2 separate regions of the Homo sapiens genome follow, and region 2 is linked to region 1. Evidence: promoter capture Hi-C in human tissues and cell types (Jung and others, 2019). All regions are on one chromosome and are shown on one strand. Each heading gives the region's core, a stretch centred on a gene start or on the middle of the fragment in contact. The rest is flanking DNA. Distances are from core to core; before and after follow the strand shown.

The links. Contacts are between HindIII fragments. The study calls those that stand out against the background at their distance.
Region 2: a contact is called between a fragment that was not itself captured here and the fragment with the promoter of HABP2 in region 1, in 1 of the 25 tissues and cell types used here (dorsolateral prefrontal cortex).

Annotation. Positions count from the first base shown.
Region 1 is chr10:113,551,748-113,554,447 of GRCh38, forward strand. It overlaps HABP2 (hyaluronan binding protein 2), which reads left to right and starts at 1,306. Exons shown (of 13, transcript NM_004132.5): 1 at 1,306-1,443. The coding sequence starts at 1,375. The HindIII fragment of the contact is 9,394 bases long and covers 1-2,700 here.
Region 2 is chr10:112,707,764-112,710,463 of GRCh38, forward strand. All of the region lies in intron 7 of VTI1A (vesicle transport through interaction with t-SNAREs 1A), which reads left to right. Among named protein-coding and RNA genes, the nearest start is that of MIR4295, 75 kb to the left of the region's middle. RefSeq lists a silencer at 2,107-2,401. The HindIII fragment of the contact is 5,775 bases long and covers 1-2,700 here.

The DNA of each region.
Region 1 (2,700 bases), core at 56-2,555:
GTGAGCCAAGATCACGCCACTGCACTTCAGCCTGGATGACAGAGTGAGACTCTGTCTCAAAATAATAATAATAATAATAATAAAAAGAAAAAGGGACTACTAACATGGGCTTGTATTATGGTGATCAGGTGGATGTTGATGGTATAGGAGGCGGGGTGGGGGGAGTTGATGGCTGCCTAAAATAGGATGGAGACAAAAATATGTGGATAAAAGAAAATAATGTGGAAGTCATTTAGGAGGTAAAATGGCAGGACCAGGACTTGGCTAGTCCTTCAAGGCTCATCTGGTGACTGGGGCATTCTTTTGGGCTGGGATCTGTGGGGCCCTCCCCGGCTAGCAACTTGGCTTTCAGAAGTAGATGCAGCCACTGATGCAGTCCACGTGCCAAACAGGGATGGCAGGTAGGGGCAGGGCTGGGCAGGGGGGCACAGGTGAGCACATGCCTCCGCTGGCAGCAGCATTTCAAAACCTGGATTTATGACTCAAGTCAGGAGGATTCCTGGAACCCAGGCATAGATTTCTGTGGGCAGTCAGTTGTTTACAGGAGATTAAGATCATGCCTATTAAAGAGATCAATTGTGTCCACAAGAACCCACACTTAATAGGTAATTGCTGCTTGACAGAACTCTACCTGCAACCAGCATAGCTAAATAAGGAACATAGGAAACAATTGTCCTGAAATATGAACACCATGTTTTTTTTCCTCCGCTTGATCAAAGAAAGACTCCAGCAAAAGGGGAAAAAATAATTAAAAAGTAAAAGTCTTACCTAATGAGGTTTAAAACAAAACTTTTGAAGCCAACAAGCAACTGTGGGCAACACTTCAAAGGGCCCAGAATCAATGTTTGTCAATAGCAGTTTTGCATCCTTTAATTTATGTCTCATGAATATAAAGTGTGATGTTATTAGGAGCCCATCCATGCCTTAATTCTGTTTGAGATTTGATGAACCAGAAGTCTATTAACATTCTGTACAAATCAGCACTGGCAGAGGCCTGTGGCACAGGCTTCACCTGATCTTTTATCCTGAGGCTGGGATGCTAGTCACGCTGTCAGGCTTCCTGCTCGGAACACCCAGCAGCTGTCATGTGCACCGTGGAGCCAGGGGGCTATGTCAGCTACTTTCTTTGGAGAGTTTCTCCCCAGAAGAGAAACCACTTCATGACTCAGCCCAGCCCCAAAGTTGCCATTTGTTTAATCAAGATAGTTAGTTTGCAAAACATTAAACATTAAACAGTATTTGATGCCTAGTTAATAATTTGCATCCTCTTCATTTGTTCCTGAATCCTTGGAGACTGACATTTTTCCCCCCTAAAGGCATAGACAACAAAAGAAATTTTATTGAGAGGAAAACACAAGTCCTTAAACTGCAAAGATGTTTGCCAGGATGTCTGATCTCCATGTTCTGCTGTTAATGGCTCTGGTGGGAAAGACAGCCTGTGGGGTAAGTGTTCTTTTCTAATATTTGTAGTTGAGAGACTCCGAAGTTTACTAGGAGGACCAAGCTAGGCTGGGAGTGATGAGAAACTTTAGAGTGAAAGGCTGGAGTTGCCAAGTTGGAGATGTTCTAACTACAAGAACCAATGCAGGCCTGTGGCTTGGTTTCTTTTGAGCAGCCACTCCCATGGGAACAGGTGTCTGACTTGAGCCATCTTGGAGCGGAGCCTCCATGAATGCATTCCAGCAAAGGAGACTGGGGCAAGAAAATGTGCCCCAGGGCATGGATTGTAATCTGTCATGGATCTCATAGACCCCTTTGAGAAGCCATGGAAAGCTATAAACTCTCTCCCCAGGAAAATATACCTATCTATTGGTGCTGACACACACAGTTTTCCAGCGATTTGTGGCTGACACTAGGGTAAGAAGCAATGTGCTATGGCCTTAGAGGGGAAGCCTGCTGACTGCAAAAGATCCTGGCAGTGGGTCTGCATAAATAGTTTGGATTTGGGGAGAAGCTTTGTGTTTAGTACTTTGTCTCCTTTTCCCTGTGACAGCAGCAGATGAGGCAGAGAAGGTGAGCAGGGGCCCAAGGGAGGTTGCAGTGCGCAGGGAAGGGAAGTCCCATCAGAGAGTCTTGAACGGGGGACTCAGGACCTTCCGGAGCAGATGACTTGTCAAGATGTTAGTTCCTTCTGTGTGCCATGGTCCAAGAGTGTCAGATGGATCTCTGTGGGCATGGAAAGAGGACCTTGCACAGAAATAGAGTCTCCTTGGAGTTCCGTGCTGGTTGTGGTCTGAGGCATGAATGTGGGCTTTGGAGCCAGGGTTCGAATCTCAGCTTTGCCACATTCTAGCTGTGGAATGTTGGGCAAGGAACATAATCTCTCTGAGCCTCAGTGTTGTCTTCTGCAAATCAAGTGCTAACCTCTCATAGATTTGGGGAGGGCCACAAGTAAACGAGGTCATGTATGTGGCTTGCAAATAAATGTGAGCTCTACTCCCTTAAAATGTCAAGAATGAACACAACTTCTCCATAAAAATCAGAGAATGCTCCGCCTTGTTCGGGAGGGGTGGTAGAAAGTGGGCAGAGGATAAGAACTAAAATAACAGTCATAACCTCTCTGTCTTATTAAGTACCTTTGCATTTTGTTCCCCATTTCACTCCATAGAGCGTTTCCTGAATGAAGCAGATTAAGTTACAGTTTTCTGATTAGCATGTTTTTAAAACAATAGCTTCTCCTTTCTTTTCCGTCAACTGTGC
Region 2 (2,700 bases), core at 47-2,546, 840 kb before region 1:
AATTTTAAAGTTATTGTCCTAAATTGGAAGATGATGTATTTTAACATAAAGAGTATTAGACTCTGCCAGAATTATTTATTTGAGATTGACTATGAGCTATAAAAGTCTGTTTGGTTCATGTAATTGCCTTTTAGTTTTTTTGCTACCCTCAGCTGTAAAACATCAAACAAAATTAGCAGCTGCAGTCCTGGTTGCACTTTATTAAACATCTAGCCAATTTTTTCACCCCTGTTCCTGGTGAAGTTTATTTAGGTAAAAGGTTGATAACATTCTTTACCGCCAAAGAAAGCAGGTTCATTTCTGTTAGACAGTTCTATCCTGATAACATTGAAGAAGCTAAACACAAGGACTCATTGCTTCTCACTGGTATCAGTGGGCCTGTCCTTCCACTGTGCTAGCCAGGTGTGTAAAGTATGTAATTTCACATGCAAAATAGAATAATTGTGTGGTATGTGTATACAGCATGTATATTACTGTAGGTTTGTTGAAATACAAAATAATTCTGAAATGTTTGCATTTTGAAAAAGACTTGGCCTCCACCAGGCACTAATGTGCAGTATGCATTGTTTATACATGGGCATATTTATATAAACAGGGTTACAGGTCTGTGTAAAGAAGTTACATTGATTACAAGAGCTAATATAAGCTTGGGAATATTTGTGTTAATACTTCAGTTTTTTTCAAATAAGGTCCCATGTATTTCTTACATAGAAGACTGTTTCCTAAAAGTGGTAAAAAGGAAAACACTCATCTCTAATGTTTTATACTGTGCCAGCTACATATTTGACAAGATTCTTTTAGTTATTCTACTTATTAGAGATATTTGTAAAGGAATGTGTTCTGCATACTAATTAGCATTAAGCAGTATCTTTGACAGAAGCGAGTCACCAGCTATTCTAAGTAAGAACTGAAGAACTTTTGGATGGCATGGAATATTTCAAATATTTCACCATTCAGCAGTCTAGCTCGTGATGATCAAATACACCAATAAATGCTGCTCATATTTCTATAAACATGGAATTATGTTGTACATGCATCCATTTTGTGTAGCCTTTCCCACTTCGCCGTTTGCCGTGAACATTTCTTCTTGACAGTAAATAGTCTCCTAAAAACATGTTTCGTAGTTACACAGTCTGTCTCCTAAAAGCGCAAAGAGCAGTACTTGGTTTCTGGGTGGAAACCCATAGCTGGCATGTTTATGCCACCCCGCGGTTGCTGGTAGTTTCTGAATCTATGGACTTGCTGGCCCTCCAGCGTCTATTGTCAATTTTCTTAGGGATTATCCCGGGAGGGGTACGTGTCCCCTTCCTCACCTCCATCCTGTTCCTGATTAGACCGCCTTCCTCTGGCATATATTCTCCTTCATCTCACTCACCATCCTCCTCCCTGATTAGTCCCGGCCTTCATTTCATTTCAGTCACCATTTCTCCCCAGGAATTGGCTCCCTTTTTTGTGTCCCTTCTTTAAGAGTGTCTGGTTGCTTTGCTGACAAACACCTCAGAAAAGGGACAGAAAGTTGGAGCCCTGTATTTTCACAGATAAAGAGTATACAATGAAGATTTTTGACCTCTAGTTCCCTAAGAGTGTCTGTCTTCAGACAGAACTGCCCCCCTGGTGCTGTGGGCTGGCCTAGGCCTCTGCTGGCCCTCAGCCTTCTCTGCAATGCAGCCTCTACCTTCCTTCCCAGCCACCCTCCCCTCGCTTGACCTGCACCTCAGCCAGCCGGAACTGCTCCCTGCCTACCAGACTTGCCTCTTGCTCTTAATCTTGCTCATGCCATTCCTCCTGCCTGGACATTTACCTTCTCTTCCCCATAAAAATCCTGCCCATCTTTCAGTTCCCTGTCTTCATGCTGCATCCTCAAAGAAAGGAGAGATCACATTTTTCAGATCTCCCCAACAAGAGGCACTCTATGTGGCTTTTTTTTTTTTTTTTTTTTTTTTTTTTGAGATAGTTTTGCTCTGTTGCCCAGGCTGGAATGCAGTGGCGCAGTCTTGGCTCACTGCGACCTCTGCCTCCTGGGTTCAAGCAATTCTTGTGCCTCGGCCTCCCAGGTAGGTGGGACTATAGGCAGGCACCACCAAGCCTGGCTAATTTTTTGTATTTTAGTAGAGACAGAGTTTCACCATGTTGCCCAGGCTGGTCTCGAACTCCTGAGCTCAAGCAATCCACCTGCCTCGGCCTCCCAAAGTGCTCTGTGTTGCTTTGATTGTACTGCTCTTGTTGGACAGATCTAGTATGCCTTAAGTTTCAGCTGTTTCAGTACCTATCTCATTCCCTCTACTATAGGGTTAACTCCTGGAGAACAAGGAATACAGCTCTCATATTTGAATCTGAAAGCACTCAGCACAGTTGCATTCACATGGAAGGTGCTTGGTAAATATTGGCCCATGAGGATTTTTAAACCTCTGATTTGAATCCATTTGTTGTCCTCCAGTTAATGTCTTTTTTTTTTTTTCTCCGAGATGGAGTCTTGCTCTGTCGCCCAGGCTGGAGTGCATTGGCATGCTCTCAGCTCGCTGCAACCTCTGCCTCCTGGGTTCAAATGATTCTCCTGCCTCGGCCTCCCAAGTAGCTGGGATTACAAGCGTGCACCACCACGCTGCCTAACTTTTGTATTTTTAGTAGAAATGGGGTTTTGCCATGTTGGTCAGGCTGGTCTCAAACTCCTAACCTCAAGTGATCCGCCCACCTTGGCCT